Regions from separate parts of the Homo sapiens genome. Here region 2 is linked to region 1. Evidence: promoter capture Hi-C in human tissues and cell types (Jung and others, 2019). All regions are on one chromosome and are shown on one strand. Each heading gives the region's core, a stretch centred on a gene start or on the middle of the fragment in contact. The rest is flanking DNA. Distances are from core to core; before and after follow the strand shown. Region 1 holds the start of RPAP1 (RNA polymerase II associated protein 1). Region 2 overlaps RTF1 (RTF1 homolog, Paf1/RNA polymerase II complex component).

The links. The method cuts DNA at HindIII sites, captures the fragments that hold promoters and counts their contacts. A contact is called where the count stands out against the background at its distance.
Region 2: a fragment that was not itself captured here is called in contact with the fragment with the promoter of RPAP1 in region 1 in 3 of the 25 tissues and cell types used here (lymphoblastoid cells, mesenchymal stem cells and mesendoderm cells).

What each region holds. Positions count from the first base shown.
Region 1 is chr15:41,541,918-41,547,118 of GRCh38, forward strand. It overlaps RPAP1 (RNA polymerase II associated protein 1), which reads right to left and starts at 2,340. Exons shown (of 25, transcript NM_015540.4): 1 at 2,302-2,340. RefSeq lists a silencer at 900-1,100 and enhancers at 1,580-2,161, 2,095-2,484. The HindIII fragment of the contact is 9,616 bases long and covers 1,935-5,201 here.
Region 2 is chr15:41,474,743-41,479,943 of GRCh38, forward strand. RTF1 (RTF1 homolog, Paf1/RNA polymerase II complex component) reads left to right here. Exons shown (of 18, transcript NM_015138.5): 10 at 783-870; 11 at 970-1,077; 12 at 1,704-1,781; 13 at 2,423-2,544; 14 at 2,716-2,773; 15 at 3,806-3,883; 16 at 4,361-4,456. It overlaps LOC105370790 (a long non-coding RNA gene), which reads right to left. Exons shown (of 3, transcript XR_932169.3): 3 at 4,685-4,749. Among named protein-coding and RNA genes, the nearest start is that of ITPKA, 17 kb to the right of the region's middle. The HindIII fragment of the contact is 4,062 bases long and covers 434-4,495 here.

The DNA.
Region 1 (5,201 bases), core at 1,090-3,589:
ATAACTAAGCCAGCCTTGGAAACACCTCCCAACACAGGGGTTGGGGGCAGGCTAAAGGGGTAGAAATGGTGAAACAATCACATGACGGTGTGACCTTAAGAACATTATCAAAAAATTTTTTGAGAGTTTACTCTGGGCTGAGCGGTGTACAAGGGGCTGTAAATATAAAGAAATGGGAGTAAAATCCAGTCCCTGGGTTCAAGGGGCTTACTGGGGAGACAGAGACCATGCCGAAATGCTGGGTCTTTTAATAATTTCCCACTTCATTATCTCTCTTTGCCCACACAAGTCTAGAAATTCCAAAGGTTTACAGTTTAAATGATGTCTCCAAGATTGTAAAGGTCTTCCTTTGGTCAATGATGTACCCAAAGTTGGGGTGAGAGAATATGGTAAACACACATATAAATTTACAAGGCAGTACATCCCAGTGATGAAATTAATTGCATAGAAGATCAGTGCTACACGATTTCAGAGGTGGGAAAAATCCCTAAAGGTTAAAAATAGAGGTCAATATTGAAAGAGAAAACTTAGATAAGTAGAGAACTGAAGGAAGTGGATGAAGTGAGCAAAGACCTGTCTACAAAATTTCATCTTAAATTTGGCATAGAACTTGTATTAATTACTATTTGTAGCATGACAACAGCGAAGTATACAGATGTGCCTTTTCCTGGATGGGAGGTAAACAGTATGAAAATGGACTGCCTGTGTTCAAATCCAGGCTCTGCCATTTACTAACTGTGTAAGCTTAAGCAAGGTATTTTACTGAAGTTACTGTGCTTGTTTCCTCATCTGTAACATGAAGATAACTGTACCTACCTCCTGAATTAATTATATATATGTAAGAAGATTAGAACAGAGTCTCATACATGAAAGGACACAAACGCCAGTTATGATTCTTATTATTTATATAGCCAAAGGGCAGATAACCATATCTAATTGTTGGGCAGTCTGACCAACAAACAAGGAAAAAGTCTCCTACCCCAATGCCTACCCAAAGGCCCTAAGGAAGGCTGAACTAGATGAACTGAGAATCCATAGTATGGTAACAATTCACTCCTATAAGAGTCTACATAAGCAGAAACAATTCCTACTTATCCATGGATTCATGTGATCCAAAAGCAAAGTCCAGCTCACTTCATAGGGTGCGCCATACCTACATCACAAAGAGAGCCAGGGGGTTATGGGCACCAGTTTTGGAATCAATAGGCCAGAAGTCAAATACCAGTTCCGCTACTTACTAAATGCACTAAATGTGCGAAATTAGGCAAATTATCAATGCTGTCCTTTTTTTTTTTTTTTTTTTTTTTTTGAGACAGATTCTCCCTCTTGTTGCCCAGGCTGGAGTGCAATAGCACGATCTCGGCACACTGCAACCTCCGCCTCCTGGGTTCAAGTGATTCTCCTGCCTCAGGCTCCCGAGTAGCTGGGATTACAGGCGCCTGCCACCACGCCCGGCTAATTTTTTGTATTTTTTTAGTACAGACGGGGTTTCACCATGTTGGCCAGACTGGTCTCGAACTCCTGATCTCAGGTGACCCGCCCGCCTCGGCCTCCCAAAGTGCTGGGATTACAGGCGTGAGCCACCGTGCGCGGCCTCTATGCTGTCTTAAGTCCCATTTCCACAACTGTAAAATGTGAGTAACAGGTCCTATATAATAGGAAATGTGTGAGGATTTAAATGACTATACACGCAAAACGCCTAGCCCAGTGCCTGTTACTTATATAAATAAACCTCAGTAACAATTATTTTAGTCCTAAGTAAAGCCACCAGTGTGTTTCCCCACAAATCCAGCGCAGATTTGTCCAGAACCAATCAGTGCTAGAAGTGATAACATTTTCAGTTATTAATAGAATAAGAATGGGTTGGCCGGGCGCGGTGGCTCACGCCTGTAATCCTAAAGAGTAATGCCTAAAGAGTAACTCGTAAAAAAAAGTAGTCCTAACAATGGACCTCTGGGTTTATGTTGGCCTCTGAGGAGTCTCTGGGGCTCTTACATTGCAGCCTATCCTCCAGAGCCAGGATCCAATCCCGAGTCGGGACGCGTGACTGCCCTTACCGCTCAGGTCAAGGGCTCCAGTTAAGCCTCCTGGACCACCCAACTCTACAATGAGGAATCATCGAGTCGCAGCTTTCGCCGCCCGTTGAAGGGCCGTGCCCGAGATCTATGCACAGAGGAGGCCACAGTTGCTCCCTTACAGACCAAAGGCCCGCAGGCAGGTTCCAGCAAAGAAACTGGACACGCTACCCTGGGTCCTCCTCCCAGATCACCTGAAATCCGTCCCTCCAGCCCCGCCACCTACGTGCTCCAGGCCTGTCTGGGCGCCGCCATCTTGCCCCGCAGAGATCGCGTTTCCGCCGCCGCCAGATTCCAGCTTCCGCCCCGCAGCCCAGCCCCGCCTCTCCCGGTCTTATCTCGGAGCATTCTGGGCTTTGCTTGTTCAGTGCAGCGGACTGGTGAGCGCGGTGCTGCGCGGCTGGCGGTTTATTACCCCCACGTAAGCTCTATACCATCACCCAGAACACACATCCTTTTTTTTTTTTTTTTTTTTTGAGACAGAGTCTTGCTCTGTCGCACAGGCTGGAGTGCTGTGGCGCAATCTCGGCTCACTGCAACCTCCGCCTCCCGGGCTCAAGCGATTCTTGTGCCTCAGCCTCCCGAGTAGCTGGGATTACAGGTGCCCGCCACCACGTCTGGCTAATTTTTGTATTTTTAGTAGAGACGGGGTTTCACCATGTTGGCCAAGCTGGTCTCGAACTCCCGACCTTAGGTAATCCGCCCGCCTCGGCCCCCCAAAGTGCTGTGATTACAGGATGTGCCACCGCGCCTGGCCCACACATGCTTCTGATGTACAGCAGGCACAGCCCCTTCTGCACTTACGACACCCCTGGCAGGGACACAGCGTTCCTCAGACGTCCCTCTGCACTCACCAGCCAGTGTTACCACATCCCACATCCCAGCACCCACGCCCACGGCAGCACACAGAAACGTGGACACACACACACACCCCAACGTGACGAATGTGTTTATGGAAGAGCTAGAAGGTAACCATGAAAAAGGCCCAAGGAAAGAACACTGCCAGTGTGCACTGCAGAAATAGTGGTGGTGAGAAGAGAGGGAATAAAGCTTCCTTGCTAGCAAGGTTATCATCTTCTCCAGAATCTTGCCTTTGTTCATCCCACTCTCCCTTCTTGGAAATCCTCCCTCTTTTCCCTGCCACCCCTGTCTCCAAAGGATAACTCTTTAAGGCCTAGCTGGCGTCAACTCTAAAACCTCTGCCAGCCACGCCTACTCACCAAACTTTCCTTGGATTCACCTGGAATCTCACCGCCTGCACCAGTTGTGTGGTATGCTAAGAACACACTGCCAACTACCAACTGTCACCGGTTACCTTTTCACAGGCTTATGTCCTGTTCCCTTGAATAGACTGTCAGTTCCTTGTGGGCACCAGACCTTGTACTTTGCATCTAAATACTGAGCACCCAACGTGTTGCCATGCACATAGTAGGACCTTAAGTAAATCATTTCTAGACCAAAGGACATCATGGGGCAGCCAATGTTAGTCCAGTGGCTTTCCAACTTTAACAGGCACCAGAATCAACTGGAAGTCTTGTTAAACCAGATTGCTGGGGCCAGGCACAGTGGCACATGCCTATAATCCCAGTACTTTGGGAGGCTGAAGCTGGCAGATCACCTAAGGTCAGGAGTTCGAGACCAGCCTGACCAACATGGTGAAACCCCATCTCTACTAAAAATATAAAAATTAGCAGGGCATGGTGGTGTCCATCTGTAGTCCCAGCTACTCAAGAGGCTGAGCCAGGAGAATCACTTGAACCTGGGAAGCGGAGGTTGCAGTGAGCCAAGATGGAACCACTGCACTCCAGATTGGGCCACAGAGCCAGACTCTGTTTCAAACAAAACGAAACAGATTGCTGGGCCTCAACCTCTGAGTTTCTGATTCAGTAGGTTTTTCTTTTTCTTTCTTTTTTTTTTTTTAAGACGGAGTCTTGCTCTTGTCGCCCAGGCTGGAGTGCAATAGCATGATCTCGGCACACTGCAACCTCCTCCTGGGTTCAAGTGATTCTCCTGCCTCAGCCTCCCGAGTAGCTGGGATTACAGGCGCCCGCCACCATGCCCAGCTAATTTTTGTATTTTTAGTAGAGACGGGGTTTCACCATGTTGGCCAGGCTGGTCTCGAGCTCCTGACCTCAGGTGATCCACCTACGTCAGCTTCCTAAAGTGCTGGGATTACAGGCATGAGCTACTGCACCTGGCCTGTTTCAGTAGGTTTCCTTTTTTTTTGTGACAGAGTCTCGCTCTGTCGCCCAGGCTGGAGTGCACTGGCGCAGTCTCAGCTCACTGCAACCTGCACCTCCCGGGTTCACACCATTCTCCTGCCTCAGCCTCCTGAGTAGCTGGGACTACAGGCACCTGTCACCATGCCGGGCTACTTTTTTGTATTTTTAGTAGAGACAGGGTTTCACCGTGTTAGCCAGGATGGTCTCCATCTCCTGACCTCGTGATCTGCCCGCCTTGGCCTCCCAAAGTGCTGGGATTACAGGCGTGAGCCACCGTGCCCAGCCGATTCAGTAGGTTTCTAATAGAGCCCCAAAATTTGTATTTCTACCAAGTTTCTAGGTGATGCTGCTGGTCCCGCACTATAGCAGATCTATAATCCTCTTGGCTTCAACTACAGATGTAAATTTCGGCTACTAGGATTTAGTCATCTTGAGGTCCAAAATAGTACTAGACCTGGTCAGAAGTTATGGAGGCAGCGGGATGAGGGAGAGGAACTGGAGCCAAATATGCAGAATGAATGATAGTAGAAAATAATTGTTCGCAATGAAATAACGAGATAATGGCTCCTGGCAATGGTGCCACCACGCCCAGCTAAGTTTTGTATTTTTAGTAGGGACACGGTTGGACCATGTTGGCCAGGTTGGTCACGAACTCCTGACCTCAGGTGATCTGGCCTCCCAAATGCTGGGACTATAGGCATAAGCCACCATCCCCAGCTCCAGCATTCTGTTTTAACAAGCCTTCCACTTAATTTTGGTGCCTGCTAAGGTTGGAAAACACACCCAGCCTCATATAAAGTCTTCATCAACCTTTGACCTAATAGTTTTAACAGTCATTGTTTAACAACTAGGTGAAAGGTTGATGCAGACTTTATATGGATGGATCAGGTTGCCATTATATGAA
Region 2 (5,201 bases), core at 1,215-3,714, 67 kb before region 1:
ACAGGCACTGGCTTTGGGGGCTGCTGTTCTCTCTGTGTGATGTTCCTTGTTACCATGAACGCTATGTATGCAATCCCCACAAGGTACACTTGGAGGGAGACTTGTATTCCATCTTTGTCTATAGGGAAGGTAGGATATTCTCTCCTCTAGAGGGAACCAAATATATGAAGGGGTAGGACACAGAGAAAGGAAATGTGTGGTTATGAGAGACCCTCCCAGAGCCTCGCTGGCATTTCCTTGGCAAGCATGTCCAAGAGGCTTGCTTCTGGTTCTGGCTCTATGTCATAACCTCATCTGTGACAAGAAAGATCATTTTTATGGACTTCATTTCCTCTTCAGTAAAATGAAAGTGTCATTCACTCAGCAAATATTTACCGAATGTACAGTGTGCCAGGCACTGCTCTAGGTGCCATCATAGTGCACTGCAGCTTGGAACTCCTGGGCTCAGGTGATCCTCCCACCTCAGTCTCCTGAGGAGCTGTGACCACAGGCATGTAACCCTGTCCCAGGCTCTGTTGCATATTGTTGATGTTGACTGTAATGGATTTTATTGTAAATTGACTTTTGAAGCACTGACCAAGCCCATTTGGTTTCCAGTGCTAGCTTTGGGATCTCAATCTTGGCAGCTCATTAAAACAGCCTGGGATGATTTTATAGGGTAGCTAGGATTGAGAACCACTGCAATAGGTATATATAGGTGGTACATAGTCTGGTAAGGTTGCTTTGCTTGTACTACAGTCAACATGCACATTTCTTGGAGATGCTGTCTCTCTTTTATGTAGGCATGGCAATGACCAACGCGTGTTCCGTTTAGAGTTTGTCTCAAACCAAGAATTCACCGAAAGTGAGTTTATGAAGTGGAAAGAAGCGGTACGTGGCTAGAGATTACCTAGCAGTTGTTCGTGCACGTTGAGAAAATATCTTTCCAAAATCCCTTACTAATAATCTCGTATCGTGTTTTTGATCCAGATGTTCTCTGCTGGCATGCAGTTGCCCACTCTAGATGAAATCAATAAAAAGGAATTATCTATTAAAGAAGCTCTTAATTATAAATTCAATGATCAGGACATTGAAGAGGTAAGAAAACTGGTGCCCCAGAACCCGGAGGTTCATCAAGAACCAGTGTTGAGAGAACATGATTCTCTTTTATTTCCCTATATCTTGACATTTTTAGCTATGCATGAAAATGAGGGAATACTAATATTACTACCTGATTATTTATAGTTCATCAAGCTTTTTTCTATACATTCTCATGTCCGGATGAGGCTAACATAGACTGAAGTGTATTCAGAGTTCAGATGAGACAACAAATGAGGCTACATACACTAAAGTGTATTTAGGGTTCAGGGGTCTGTATTCTGCTAGGCTTGATCCTTCAAGAGTTTTCCTTTTCTAAAACATCTTGGTAAAATTATTTGATCTCTGTTCTCTTGGACAGTGGCTAGCCTTACACTACCAGGCCCTTGGGCTGCTGTTTCTTGGTGCATGTTCCTTCAGCCTGTCCCAGAAGAATCTCCGTGACCCAGGAAGCAGCATAGTATCCCTTGGAATGAACCCGCTCTCTCTCTCTCTGGGGCATGACACTGCTGTAGGAAGAGCAGCCCCTTTGTAACTAGCTGTTTGCATCCAAAATGGGCTCACTTAGCCTGTCTACAAAAATAGCTTAGGAATACCTCACTGCTGGTATCTCCTCTCTGGTACAGATTGTAAAAGAGAAAGAAAGGTTCAGAAAAGCTCCACCCAACTACGCTATGAAGAAGACTCAGCTACTGAAGGAAAAGGTAAGGAGTTGTACTCGAGCCTCTTTCCTCATCCTGTAAGGAGATGTGGAAATCAAACTTGTTCATCCTCTGCCAAGTTAGTGGTGGTAGGATTGGGAGAAAATTCTGGGCTCGATTATAAGCAACACAGTGTGTTCTTGGCACCTGGGCAACGTTCCTTGGCCATTTTCCATTCCCTAAATTCAAACTCATCTTCTGCGTGTGTGCCAGTCTTCTTACTTTCTAGTCACTTCAGTTTCCTTTGTAATAAAATAGACCCTGGGGTGGTATTTAACACTGAGTCTGAACAGACAGATGACACTGTCAAGGCCACCTGTGGCTGGTGATTTTCCATTCTTCACACTGGGTTGGGGTGGGCCTTGTTATGGTGGTTTAGCCACCCTGTGAGGCCTGGGGTTCTACTGCCACCAGGGACCCACAGCCAGGTAGCTGTATGGGAAGGTGTTCCCCACTGTACTGTGCACTACTATAATATAAATTATATCTTGTATTTGTAAAGTACTTCTACAGTATTCTTCCACATCTCCTGTCCTTTGCTCACCACATGAGATATCTTTGCCTGTGCTGGAAGTAAGGGGATACTTGATATGGAGTCAGTTGTATGTAGCCAAGAACGAACTCACACATCTCTCTATGTGTAGGCCATGGCTGAGGACCTGGGGGATCAGGACAAGGCCAAACAAATCCAAGATCAACTGAATGAGCTGGAGGAACGGGCAGAGGCCCTGGACCGCCAGCGGACCAAGAACATATCCGCTATCAGGTGTGTTATGGAGCCTATTTTTGGCCCGCAGACCTTGGCCAAAATTATCAGGCAAGCCTGTGGCCTGTACACTCTGTGCTGCACTGACCCCATAGATATCTGAGTTCAGGGCTCAGTGGTTCCCTCCCTCCCTTGTTTCACAGCCACTGACTCATCCCTCTTACCCCACAGTTACATCAACCAGCGGAACCGGGAGTGGAACATTGTAGAGTCTGAGAAGGCCCTTGTGGTAAGAAAACTTTATCTGAATCACTAAAACAAAGTTAATTAATAAACCATGACATCTTTTCTACATCTTGCCTAAGTTTATTTTTTAATTATTGAAATAACGTAGGCACTTAACGTATACACACTCTCTCTGTATGTCCACGTACATCGATATAATTTATTCATAATGAAAAGCAGCAGTCTTCTGCCCTGTCCTACCTCTTCCCACCCTTAGATTCTACTCCACAGGTATTTGTTTTTTCTCAATTTCTGTTTCTTGGTTGTTTCCCCCATATCTACTCTGGTATTCTTGAAGGGAAAAGGATAATATGCCGGGCGCGGTGTCTCACGCCTGTAATCCCAGCACTTTGGGAGGCCGAGGCGGGTGGATCACCTGGGGTCAGGAGTTTGAAACCAGCCTGGCCAGCATGACAAAACCCTGTCTCTCCTAAAAATACAAAAATGAGCCGGACATGGTGGTGCACGCCTGTAATCCCAGCTACTTGGGAGGCTGAGGCACGAGAATCACTTGAACCTGGGATGTGGAGATTGCAGTGAGCTGTCGTGCCACTGCACTTTAGCCTGGGCAAGAGAGCGAGAATCCATTTAAAAAATAAAAAAAATTAGCCGGGCATGGTGGCTCACGCCTGTAATCCCAGCACTTTGGGAGGCTGAGGTGGGTGGATCACCTGAGGTCAGGAGTTTGAGAGCAGCCTGGCCAACATGGCGAAACCCTGTCTCTACTAAAAATACAAAAATTAGCTGGGTTTGGTGGCTTGCACCTATAGTCCCAGCTGCTGGAGAGGCTGAGGCAGGAGAATCACTTGAACCTGAGAGGCAGCAGATGCAATGAGCTGAGATTGCGTCACTGCACTTCAGCCTAGGCGACAGGGCGAGACTCCATCTCAAAAAAAATTAAAAAAAAAAAAAAAGGAAAAGGATAATAGCTTTTTTTTTTTTCAGTCCCGTGCAAAGACTTATTTGCCTGTGAGCTTATGGTGAATGAGAGGAGGGGCTGGAGGTGCAGTTCTGTGGTGCATGCTTTCTGTTTCAGGCTGAAAGTCACAACATGAAAAACCAACAGATGGATCCCTTTACTCGGCGGCAGTGCAAGCCTACCATCGTTTCTAATGTGAGTGCTGAAAGAGGACATTTTAGTCAGGACCTAGATTCTAGGACACAAAATGAATTCCATTAGGAAATTAATAATGAAGTTAAAAATAATGTTTTCTTAGCTGGGATTTGCTTGTCTGAAGCTCTTGGGTCTGGATACTTCCTTTTTTATCTTGCTATAGGACATATCGGTAGTGAAAACGTGGCATGGATTTATAAAAACCTAGTGACTGATCCTCCTGTATCAGGGTGGGTTTACAGTGCAGCAGACATTAGTAATGTGTCCCTTAGCTAGGGCCTGGCTGGGCTGGGCTTGGCTTTCAAGCTTGTAATTGCCTTTTTTTTTTTTTTTTTTGCTGCTTTGAGGAAAACCCCACTAGCTGCTGATGGGTCGGCTGTGGTGCTTGTGATGTTAGTTTGGTAGGTGGGAAAGAATCTGGCAGTAGGACTCTGTGAGTGTCAAGCAATCTCTAAAACAACTTATTTTCTCTCTCAGTCCAGAGACCCAGCTGTTCAAGCTGCCATCTTGGCCCAGCTGAATGCAAAATACGGTTCTGGAGTGTTACCAGATGCTCCAAAGGAAATGAGCAAGGCAAGTGTGGTACCACCCTGTTGCCTGCTGAGTGAGGCTGCTGGCTGAGATACCGAACAAGTACCTTGTCTAGTTTGGGCTTGATTTTTCCACCTTGAGGAACAGGGAGTCCCTCTTGGAGTCCCTTCTCCATCCCAGTTATTTACAGATATAATCAACAGACAACCTTAATTCCAAACCTGACACCACTACTTGCCTAGGGCCTTGACTATGTCCTTCAGCAGCTGGCTTCCAGCCCTCAGCATCCCCTTTTCTGCTGTGTAAAATGAGGGTACTACTGTATACCCTGCCAGCTTCACAGGAGGAGAGATAACATACAAAGATCAGACATTGTAAAAGTGAAAGCTTGTTGAAAATGGCACATTTAAAAGCAGTTTTCTTGCTGGGCGCAGTGGCTCATGCCTGTAATCCCAGCACTTTGGGAGGCGGAGGTGGGCGGATCACCTGAGGTCAGGAGTTCGAGACCAGCCTGGCCAACATGGTAGAACCCCGTCTCTACTAAAAATAGAAAAAAAATAGCTGGGCATGGTGGCGGGTTCCGATAACTCCAGCTACTGAGGAGGCTGAGGCAGGAAAATCGCGTGAACCTGGGAGGGGGAGGTTGCAGTGAGCCAAGATTGCACCGTTGTACTCCAGCCTAGGTGACAAGAGTGAGACTCCCACCTCAAAAAAAAAAAAAAAAAGCAGTTTTCTGTCCAAGTTAAGTCTTTTCCTGTTGTAGTCTAACTGGTCTCAGGATTTCTGA